3 separate regions of the Homo sapiens genome follow, and regions 1 and 2 are each linked to region 3. The links are contacts of gene promoters, found by promoter capture Hi-C in blood cells and fetal thymus (Javierre and others, 2016). All regions are on one chromosome and are shown on one strand. The core of a region is centred on a gene start or on the middle of the fragment in contact, and the rest is flanking DNA. Distances in the headings are between cores, read along the strand shown. Region 1 has its middle 46 kb from the start of LONRF3. Region 2 overlaps PGRMC1 (progesterone receptor membrane component 1). Region 3 holds the start of DOCK11 (dedicator of cytokinesis 11).

Evidence for each region. Contacts are between HindIII fragments. The CHiCAGO score rates a contact against its expected background, and 5 or more counts as called.
Region 1: a fragment that was not itself captured here is called in contact with the fragment with the promoter of DOCK11 in region 3 in 1 of 17 cell types (monocytes); the score reaches 7.0 in monocytes.
Region 2: a fragment that was not itself captured here is called in contact with the fragment with the promoter of DOCK11 in region 3 in 1 of 17 cell types (activated CD4 T cells); the score reaches 5.6 in activated CD4 T cells.

What each region holds. Positions count from the first base shown.
Region 1 is chrX:119,018,857-119,022,552 of GRCh38, reverse strand. No RefSeq gene overlaps it. Among named protein-coding and RNA genes, the nearest start is that of LONRF3, 46 kb to the right of the region's middle. The HindIII fragment of the contact is 1,293 bases long and covers 1,403-2,695 here.
Region 2 is chrX:119,239,437-119,243,360 of GRCh38, reverse strand. It overlaps PGRMC1 (progesterone receptor membrane component 1), which reads right to left. Exons shown (of 3, transcript NM_006667.5): 2 at 2,897-3,052; 3 at 1-210. The coding sequence ends at 107. Among named protein-coding and RNA genes, the nearest start is that of PGRMC1, 5.1 kb to the right of the region's middle. The HindIII fragment of the contact is 6,368 bases long and covers 1-3,924 here.
Region 3 is chrX:118,493,909-118,497,699 of GRCh38, reverse strand. DOCK11 (dedicator of cytokinesis 11) reads right to left here and starts at 1,885. Exons shown (of 53, transcript NM_144658.4): 1 at 1,627-1,885. The coding sequence starts at 1,728. RefSeq lists silencers at 1,358-1,417, 1,588-1,647, 1,738-1,817, 1,928-2,067 and enhancers at 1,097-2,075, 2,478-2,547. The HindIII fragment of the contact is 5,195 bases long and covers 1-3,791 here.

The DNA.
Region 1 (3,696 bases), core at 800-3,299, 520 kb before region 3:
TTGCTTTCCTTTTATTCCATTATTAGTGTTGCTTTAACAATAGATAAATGTTAGTCAACTTTTAAAATTATGCATTAGCTACAGTGTTGCTTTGTAAACTTCTGTTAAATCGCGTTTGCTGCAAAAACATTTTAAACAACAGCTACAGTCATGAAGCAAAAGCTTTAAAGTGACACCAGGAACAGAGATTACAGGCACTTCTCTCTGGAGGTTAACTTAGCATGTTTGGAAATACACATTTGTAAGTGAAAATTTCTTTATTTCACCTCTGGATGTGTGTAACCCAGATTATTAAATAGTTGTACAGTGTAATAAGGTGGGAGCTATCATTCTAAGATGAATTGAATGTGTACACTTTATGTGGCTCCTTTTCCTTCCTTCTGTTTGAACTCAGAAGGGCCACAAATTGAAGCCCATGCTGCCAGCTGCTTTTTAGAACTGTCTTCTACCATAAATCAAAACCTCACTTAGCCCCAAGAATGGGCTGAAAATCTTCTCTTTTCCATTGTTTGGGCTGCCCTCCATTTGCATCTTTGTCACACACCACTGCTATGGTTCTGCCTTGGTGAGCAGAAATGGATGCGAAGTCAACATGTTGGGAACTCAAAAATGAGTTCCTGAATAAAATTCCCATCTTGGAAATGGAGTTGGTGTGGGGAACACAGACGGATTGCAGTCTGTCAACAGTATGCAATCTGTTGACTGTAAGAGACCTCTGGGTGCTGTGAACTAGCCTCAGGAGCTCCGCCGCTCCAATGGCCAGTCACAGGGGATTATCTGAGCCCAGGCCAGCTCCACAGGTAGAGCTGGAAGCGCCACATGCGCAATGACTCTGCTTGCCCCTTGCTGCTGAGGCAGCACTGGGCTAAAAGCAACCTTCAGAAAAGGCAAACTTTAAAAATTGTCATTCTCTGCCCCGCTAAGTCAGGGGCAGGCACTCTTTTCTCCAGGTTGTCTACAGAAAATTGGTTTTTCATTTTCTACATTTTGCTGGTTATTTGCTAGCAGCAGTAGTACAGTACAAAGCAGAAAGATATGATGTCTGCTTGCTACCTAGTGTATATATATATATATATATATATATATATATATATATATATACACACACACATACACACACACACATACACACACAAAGACATACATACATACATACATACATACAAAATATAACCTACTAGGCAAAGACTGGGTCAGTCATGATAGACAGAAAAACTAACTAAATAAGTGGCACTATCTACTGTGGGGGAAGTCTTATTTTTCTGGCCTAGATTTAGCCTTATGTCTTTCTTCTGTATACCCTTCATTCCCAAGCTGTGCAGCAAAACCAATTTCCCAGTGTAAAAATGTTCAAGACCAATTGATTACCTCGTTAAGGTACATCCCAAAGAAAGCCAAAGCTTAGCCTTGCATCCTGCCTTGCAACTAGACAAAATATTTAACATAGTGGAGGCTCAGTTTTCTCATTCATAATATGGGGATAATAACTGCTCTCGCAGGGTTGGTATGAGAAATAAATGATGTAATGAGCTCAGGTATGTGAGATCACTTGGCTCAGTACCTGGTACATGGGGATCTCAGTACATTTTTTGTTGAATCTGTTACTTTGGGCAACATAAAGAAATACTATCAACTAAGAACAGAAGTCACAGATTGTAAACTCTCATCATCTGGGATGGGTAAGGTTCTCAATACATTTTGGAGAACAGGGAGTGAAAAGTTGGTTATTCTAATGGAGCTAGAACTTAAGGCTTCCATTCTATCAGAAATCCTAGGCTGGGTGCGGTGGCTCACACCCACGCCCGTAATCCCAGCACTTTGGGAGGCCCAGGCAGATGGATCACCTGAGGTCAGGAGTTCGAGACTAGCTTGACCAACATGGTGAAACCCCATCTCTACTAAAACTACAAAAATTAGCCAGGCGTGGTGGTGCGTGCCTGTAATCCCAGCTACTTGGGGGGCTGAGACAAGGGAATCACTTGAACCTGGGAGGCGGAGGTTGCAGTGAACTGAGATCGAGCCACTGCACTCCAGCCTGGGTGACAGAGTGAGACTCAGACTCGCACACACACACACACACACAAAAGAAAGAAAGGAAAGGAAAGGAAAGGAAAAAGAAAGGAAGGAAGGAAGGGAGGGAAAGAGAGAGAGAGGGAGGGAGGGAGGGAACAAAAGAAAAAGAAAGGAAGGAAGGAAGGAAGAAAGAAATCCTAGACCTACATAGGGCACTACCTTCTAGCCCTTATTGAAGCAGGAAAAAAATTTCTGGTATAGGATTGATCCCTATCTCTGACCCTCATTTGTTCTCCAGTTATTTCACTTTCACACACATTTAATTCCCAAAAGAATTATCTGTAAATCATCAAATTATGGGTCCAAAAATCAGTGGTATGTATTCCCCCAACTAAGTTTAAAGGGGTTTCAAGTGGATATTGTGTGTAAAGGCAGTGTTTTATACAAATGTAGGCCCTTGATGATATTCTATAACTATGACTAATCTAATAGTAGCTATTATTTCTTGAGTGCATTCTAGGTGTGAGACACTGTGCTAATTGATTTACACATTATCTCATTTAATTTTCGTAACAACCCTATATGCAGAACTTATCACTATCATTTCATAGATTAGAAAACTGAGGGTTGGCAAAAGTTAAATCAATTGCCAAAAATAATATATCTAATAAGTAGAGAAGCTTAGGGCCTTTTTCTTTGTTGCATTTACACTAGATAACCAGAAACTATTAGGATTGTGTTATGACCACATGGTCTGGGAACCAGGTGGGAGGGGGAGTCTTTTCTGCTCCCTGAGCTTTGTGGAGTTTGCTTGCGCAGAAATAATGCCTATACTTCCGCCTATTTCTGTTCTTCACCTGCCCAGACTAGCTCCAAACATCAAATCTGATAAACACAACACTCTGGCAACATAATGTCCATTAAGTGAGTGCAGAAAAGACCATCTGGTTTCTGCTTACATGCATCTTTTTTATGTTGTCTGGATCATCTCATTCTCCCTTTCCTGTTTCTAGCTACAGGTGGTGATGGGAGAAGTAAGAATTACACTCTCACCTTAACAGAGTGATGGGCTGTGAATGAATGATGCAAAAATCATTCACTGTCCAAAATCACATGGTATAATTTGCATGAAGGTACTAATGGCACAATTCACTTCCTCCCTGCTCTAATCGTTTCACTCTGCCATTATAACACTCCCATACTTGTGGTACTTTACAGGCTGTCCTGCCACTGAAGGACTCAAACTAGCACTAAGCAAGCTAAATCAGGGCTTACTCTTACTCCTCACCCTATATTCTCCCCATACATTGAAATATTTCACCCATGCAACTAGAAGCAAAGGCAGTACTTAGGTAAAATAATAGATTATCTGGTTCCCTTTTTTTTTTTTTTTTTTTTTTTTTGAGACGCAGGTTTGCTCGTTGCCCAGGCTGGAGTGCAGTGGTGCAATCTCGGCTCACTGCAACCTCCATCTCCCAGGTTCATGTGATTCTCCTGCCTCAGCCTCCCAAGTAGCTGGGATTACAGGCATACACCACCAAGCCTGGCTAATTTTGTATCCATTTTTAGTAGAGACAGGGTTTCATCATGTTAGTTAGGCTGCTCTCGAACTCCTGACCTCAAGTGATCCGCCTGCCTCGGCCTCCCAAAGTGCTGGGATTACAGGCGTGAGCCACCGTGCCC
Region 2 (3,924 bases), core at 1,377-3,876, 740 kb before region 3:
TGCTCAAAACTTTCTAAATATTGTAATCACTATGTTTTAAAGACAGAGTGGACTGTTACAAATGATTTTGCAAAATACAAAAATAGATATACTTCCACTGAATGCTTTAATCATTTTTCCGGGCACTCTCATCTTTTGGTTCTTCCTCATCTGAGTACACAGTGGGCTCCTCCCCCTCCTTCAGCAGTTTGCCCACGTGATGATACTTGACTGGAGGTAGAGAAGAAAACACAAATGGTCATTCTCATTCTTTCTAAAACATCATTACCACGTTTCAATTTAAAGCATTTATTAGAGGCCTGCAATATACTCAGCAATGTGTTGGGCTTCTTGAAGGATACAAAGGTGGTTTATACCACCGTCCTTGCCAACAGGGAATTTGTTTTGTTCAGAAGACAGACATATAAAACAGGTGGCAACGTCTGGCAATGAGTGTGCAAGGTAACGTCAAAATGAATTGTTTGTGTGTAAGGAATGTTTAGAAGAACAAGGGCAAGTGATGAGTTCATCAGAAGGGTTACAGAATACTTCATGGAAGGAGGATATATTTTGGAAAAATGTATAGAAGGATTTAGGGAGGGAGTTCCAGAAAATGCAAACGCCATGTACAAATGCATACAGGTGAGACAACGTATCTGGGAAGCAATGAAGAGACCAAGTTGGCAGGAGTAGAGTTAACATTTAGAAGTTAGTAGGAGATAAGATTGGCTAAGTAGTGTGGGGAAATATTATGAAAGATCTGAAAAGCCAGCCTGAGTTTGGACTTATAGGTGGCAAAGGGCACTGAAGGTTTATAAGCGAAGGAATGACACAGTAAAATAGTGCTTTAACAACGATATTATCAATGTGGTGTATAGGGCAGATTTCAGTAAGGAGAGACTGGGAACAGGGCGATCCAGAGGCAGAGTGCAGATCCAGATGCAAAGGAACCAGCGCCAGGAGCAGGGTGGTGTCCAGGGGAATGGAAAGGGACAGATGAGAAGTACTTTGAAAGAAAACTGGAAGCATGAATTAATTAAGTGAAAATTGGAGCTCCCATGGACCAAAATGGGAACTCTGTGGAGGGAGCCATTCTGGAGGCTCACATGACAGGAGATCTAAAACATGGAATGGACAAGTGAAGTCAGGATTGGCAAGAAAAAAAAAAAAGGTTTCCCTGAAAATCTTTCAGAAAGAGAGTTCAATCCAATTGTGGGGATAGAAGCCATATTGTAGGGAGGAAGAAGGTATAGAGAGGAAATGAAGTAGTGGTTAGGAATAAAAACTTGTAAGAAGTTTGTTTGACAGTGAAAGGAAGGAATAATAGTCTCATAGATGAAGAGGAGAGCAAGAGACAGAACGTTTTTCCCAGCACAGAGAAAAACCTATGGGTGGTTAAAGGAAGTGGTAAAGGAGCCAGGAGATGACTGGAGGTGTTGGAGAAAACAGATGTAAGGGTGCAAACCAGAATGCAAAAGACTTGAGAAGAGATGGCATCAGCAAACCACCTCATCACTGTAGCCAAACTAATGCAGGGTCGATCATCTGAATGTCCAAAGCCAAGAGTCTCCTCTTCCTGAATATGAGTAGGAATTAGAGGAGTAACCAACCTGTCTAACCAGGTAACTAAAGCTGCTTTTGTGTGAAATAACCGTTGGGAACAATTGGAACTGTGTGAGACAAATAAAAGCCAGGTGGCTCCTGGGAAACCTGCCTTAAGGGGAATCCACACCAACTTTAAGTGTAGCTGAGGTGTCACAACAGCATCTGGGGCTAGCCTTAAAGTGGAAAAAAAAAATCACACTTTTTCTCCCACTGATGAAGGCAAGCCCTAGAAAATAGAGCTTTGTAAGTTAGACACTACAATTCACTGGTTTCATATAGAAAACTAATTACAAAGGCATCCTTATGATGCCAAAAATTAGGGACTCTATTAGGTAACTGAACTATGTTTTCCAAAGTATAAAAACTTGCCTCTAGACTTGGAAGTTATATGTAGCCTGCTTGAGACCAAAACTCAAAGGCAGAGACACATCTGGCTAATTATTAATCCAGAACTCTCTCTGAAGTCAGCATTATTTTCAAAGAAAATGGTTGGATATAGCCAAGAGAACATGTAATATTTAACTGATTATAGAGAACACACATAGAAAACTACATTTTAAATGAAAAATCTTCAAATAATGCTCATGGTCTTTATATACTGTTTCATAAAAGCTGGGAAAGACTCTTATTCAAATTCTTGGCAGTGAAATATTGCTAGAGTGACAATTAAACAGTTAGATTTGACAGAAACCAATTCCTGAATTCTCAAAATCTGAACTTAACCCCTCATTCCTATTTCTCCCCAAAGACCTCAGCCCATAGCATAAGCCAGAAACAAGCATCTCCTTTTTACTTTCTTTTTAAAAATGCAGACACCATTGCTGCTGGGCACATTATAAGCATCATTTGTAGATGAGGCCTATAGTTAGGTTCAATTAGATTCAAAGAGAAGCTGTTTCACAGAATACAAGTCTCCCATTCTTCAACAGAGATGTGGGCTGCTTTTAAACGGCAAGCTCTACAAGAGAGGGCTTATGAAAATCCCTTTCTGTAGCCAAGATGGACACTGTCCTTTCCCTGACACACCAAGCACCAAATCCTCATTTGGAATCTAGCAAATCTCTCAAAAATTTTAAAATCAAAACCAGAAACCCAAGTTTCCATAGAGAACTGGCTAAAAATTGGTATGCAATCATAGCAAGTGACTCAGCACTGCTACAATTACTTCAAGCCATGAACTTGATGCGTCCAAGATTAAGGAGCCTATCAAAATGCACCCAAGTTTCAGGCTGCTTAGTAATAACTATTGTCCTGCCACGAATCCCCATTACTGGTAGAAATTTGACCCAGACACAATTTTAAAAATGCTTACAAGTGAACTGAGACTCCCAGTCACTCAGAGTCTCCTGCTGGGCAGCAGTGAGGTCAGAAAGGTCATCGTACTCATCCTTCAGTGCTTCCTTATCCAGGCAAAATGTGGCAAGGCCCCTGGATGCATCTCTTCCAGCAAAGACCCCATACGGCCCCTCTTCAAAAACAAAACCAAAGATCAATTCTTTATTAGACAGTCAATTTCTCTGTGATTTATACACAGAAAATGGCTTCCCTATTCATCAACATAGCCCCATTTTTGAATATCAAATTCCATTAGGAAACCATAGTAATGCTGATATTCTGAACATTATGTAGGAGACACAGAAAGACCTGTTGTCATTTAACTTTTAAATAACTAAAAGTAAATCAAACTGCTATACATTTGCGTCAGTCTCCTGTGGTTTCCAAATAGCTAGTAAAAAAGTCATACGTGGTTAGTGATCTCTTGGGGTAGTGGTAGTAGGGAATCATACAAGAACATTGAACTGGGAGCCTGACAGTTCTAGGCACTTGGGGCTACACCAGTGAGAGTTATGGTTTCTTAAGATAATAAGCACTGATGTGTACATGAAAACACATTTCCTTATGAATATATTCTGATATGTTTTAATGAAACAAAGGTATCTTATAGAGATCTTTGGTTCCAAGGCTCAATTAAACATTAACTCATGGCATCTGCAGAAGAACCATTTTATAACAGTATCGGTGGTTTAAAAATCTATCCACATTACATAACCTTCACTGTCAATAAATAGATAACACAGAGATCAGTCTTCATTATCTGTTTTTTGGTGGGCTTGAGAAGACTGTGAAAATACTAAAATTTTCATGGAAAAGAGGCTGAATCAATACTGCAAAACAACTCTATAAAACAACTCTATAAAATGTGATTATTTGTGATATTATACTGAACTTTTGTCTAAGAGAGCAGAGAATCATTCTGTGGGTACACAAAGTGGATATTTAGACTTATTTAAATATTGCACAACTAAATGAAGAGAATCCAGTGTACTTTAAACAATGTGT
Region 3 (3,791 bases), core at 636-3,135:
TGAATCACGTGTTAACAATCACCCAAGATGAGAGCCCTGGTATAAATGCTCTGCACACAGCTTGCCTTCCTCTCTTAACTGGCTGTGATGACAGGCAAGGCTCCAATCTGACCTCAACAGGTCCTCACTCCAAAATCAGACTGAAATACACAAGCCAAGTCCATTAAAGTAACATTAAAGGTCTGGATTTAGCTCCACTAAACAGCAGAATTAAACTTTCAAGGGTCTAGCCACAATAAAGAGATTTCTTTAAAGTCACTTAGGTTTGCACAGTTGTAGCTATTAGGGATCAGATCTTTATCTCAAAGGTACATAGTTTACCTTTGATCCTCCTCCAGAACTCCCACTAATGTCAACTTTCTCCACTGTTGGGATCAAGCCCCTGGCCTCCCTTTAATGCTGGGTTTTATTGCTGATTCTACAAGATCAACAGAAAAATTACAAGGAAAAGCTGTGAAGTTCCCTTCCGATGACAAGTTGTTTTAACAAAAAGAGCCCTCTCTTAAACGGTGAAATTTAAACACAGCAAACGACTCGCTGTAAAATGGAGCTGAGGGAGACAAAAACAAACAAAAACAACAACCAAAAAACAAAGTAACAAAACAAACACTAATTAATCAGTCCGATTGCTTATTCAGGGTTTGTTCGCTTGTCCAGGAAACTGGCAACGAGTGTCTTGAAAACAAGAGAAGGGGCAAGTGCCCGTTAGCACCCTTTAGCCTTTCTCCAGAGTCAGACAATCTGGATAAGGCTGAGGGTGCTCTGGGAGGGTTCCCAGGGAGTCAGCGCGCTTTCGAATCCCCATCCCCCAGTCCTGAGCTGTGGGGCTCTGACCCCAGGTCCTCCATCCCTGGACTGACACACCCAGTCTTCCCCCAAATCCCCACGGCACCGTCCCCTTGGTCCCCTTGCCTCTGGAGCGCTCGCGTGTCCCCGAGGGACACACTCTCCCTGCGGTGGATGACCCTGCGCCCACTCTGTCGCAGAACCCCGTTGTTTCTAATGCCCTTCCTCCGCAGCAGCACCCCTTCAACACCCATCACCACCCTCTCTCCCCAGTTGCAGGAGGAAGTCGCTCTGCTTCCTCTGTTCTCACCGCCAGCCCGAGCTTGGGCGCCCGGGGCTTTCTGGGTGGGGTTCTTTTTTGTGTACACAGTGTGTGTATGTGTGCGCGCGAGAGTGTGTGTGCCAAACGCTCATCGCATCCTTCCGCCTAGGCGGCCTCAGGTGCTCGCGGGAGGGGATCAGGATCTCGTCGTGCCCTTGTCCCCGGCTCTTTGTGCCGAGTCCAGAGCAGCGCGAGGTCAGCTCTTTAGCTCACACCCCCGGCCCCGACCCTGGGTGGGAGCCTCCGCCTCCGCCTCCTCCGCAGCCGTCCGAGCCCGGCTTTTGCCCGTCTGCTTCCATCCCGGCGCACGCCTCCGCCGTGCCGGGCGGCCGGAGAGCTGTCAGCCGGCGCCTGGGACTCGGACCCCGGCCGGCGGCTGCCGGTGCGAAAACTTACTGGAGCGGAGAAAGACAGCGCGCGGCGCACCAAGCGGCCGCACTGGCGCCGTTCCTGCCCCTTCCCGCGTCGCTCCCGCCTGGAGCGCGTCCCCCGGGATGCCCCGTCCCCCGGCCACTCACCAGCACCACGGAGCCCCGCACGGCCTCAGACACGCTCTGCCGGAGCTCAGCCGCCGTGCCAGGCTTGCTGAGCCGTTTGGTGAATTTGCGCACTTCGGCCATGGCAGCGGCGGCGGGCGGGTCTCGGCGGGCGGGCGGACCTCGGCGGGCGGGTGGACTCACTGCCCCGGCCCGCGGCGGCCGCGGCCGCTGCTGCTCCCTCTGTTTACTCGCCGGCCGGCCGGCCACATCGCAGCTCGGCGGCGGCGCGGCTCACGCTGCTCCTCCCTCCCACCTCCCACCCGCTGCTCCTCCCTCGTTCCCTCCTTCCCTCCTTTTCTCGCTCGCTTCGCCCGCTCACTGTCCTGCCCCACGGCGTCGGCGGCGGCAGCTCCCTCCCCTAGAGGGCCCGAGCTCCGATCGCCACCAGCCGAAGCAGGAGGGTGTGTCTGATGGGGAAGGGTGTGTAGAGGGGGAGGGAGAACTGGAGGTGGGGGCGAGGGTCACGAGGGAAGAGGGGGGAAGTGGCTACCGCTCGGGCTCCGCCCGCAGCTGATGTTGCTGGTGCAGCCGCATCCGGGAGGGGAGATCTGGGCTGCTTCTTTTTTTCCGCTTGAGTGGGGAGGGCGGGGTGGGGTGGGGGAACAGAGAGGGGTGATGAAATGTCTCCAAGAGTGGGGCGTGCTCCTCTCCCGCCCTAGTGCTCCTCTCCCGCCTCCGAGCTGCAGTGCCCGCAGGAGGGCTGGAGAACTCTCACGTCCCTCCACCCCGCAAGCCCCCAGGGCCCAGGCGGCTAGGGGCTGGAAAACAACGTGGAGCAGCCGCCTTTTGTGTGCTCCTTGGGGAAGGGTCGCACCAATGTCGAAGGACAGAGAGCTGCTTTCCAGCGTGAGCGGCTCGACTGGGTCCCCCTCCTCGCCCACACCGTTTTCCTACTCAGTTGGCTCACCTAACAGGGGGCAACACTGGGGAGAGAGCATGCTTCTGGAAGTGGGAACTTATTGTGGCGGCACCCCTCGCTCCGTCCCCCACGGGGGAGAGCTGGGTGGTGGAGCCTGAGCCTGTGGCAGGTGATCCCTAGGTCAGCACTGACTGCACCAGGAGTGGGGTGGGGGTGGGCATTAGGATGAGCCTGTGGCAGGTGATCCCTAGGTCAGCACTGACTGCACCAGGAGTGGGGTGGGGGTGGGCATTAGGAAGGCCATCTCCCTGGGTTTGGTGGACTTACCAATCTTATAGTAGCTTTTACAAGTGCCCTGCACTCACCTCTCCATTTCCTATTCATCTCCTTACTCTTTTCAGCTTCCAAGAAATTGTTTTTCCAAGAATCAAAGAACATCTCATAACAGGGTATAAAACGAACATGCTTAAGACAGAAATAGGGACGGGAATCTTGAAGTACTAGTGACCCTGTCAGACCTCCTGAAGTGCAGAGTGAAAGGCTCCACTGATGGTGGCAGTTTTCTATCTGGTTATTTCATTTGTTGAGAGTTTGAAAATGGCCCTCAGTCTGGGGGACCGAGCAGCCCTTCTGAAAGCAGTCCTACCACCACCCATCGGGCACTTTCCCCACCCTCAAAGACCAAACAGTCTTTTAGGGGACTTTATTATGGAAACAAGGGCATGCGTGGTGATGGTTTCTTTGAACCCAGAAAAGGCCAAGTCTCTTCGCAGTAAGCCTATTTCAGCCATCCCATCAGTCTCAATAAAGCATATATGGAGGCTCCTAGAGGGCCTGGGACCTGGAAGTCCTCTAAAGACATTCTGTCACAAATCTTAGTTTTGCACAGTACGTGTAAAATTTGTTAATTGTTGCGTGTAGGCTGATCTCCAAGAATTCATACCCTCTGTTCCATAAATGCCTGTGTGGCTCATGCTGTTGGTTACCACCACAATAGCTATAACACTTTTTGCTTGCAAAGAGAGCCCAGATTTACTTCAGATATAGGGCAGAGCCACAGGGTTTAAGGAAGGCAGGCCCAACTCCAGGTGATGAATCATGACTGATGAAAAAACCATGATAAGCTCCCTCTTATTGACTAGTGGGATGGTCTAGACTCCCAATCGGTTTGGGCCAATAAGATATAAGAGGGAAGTGTGAGAGGAGGGTTCCTGGGAAAGTTTTTCTACCTTGATGAAAAAAAAAGGAGAGAGGCCCAGGCCCCACTTTCTTCCTGAGAGGGATG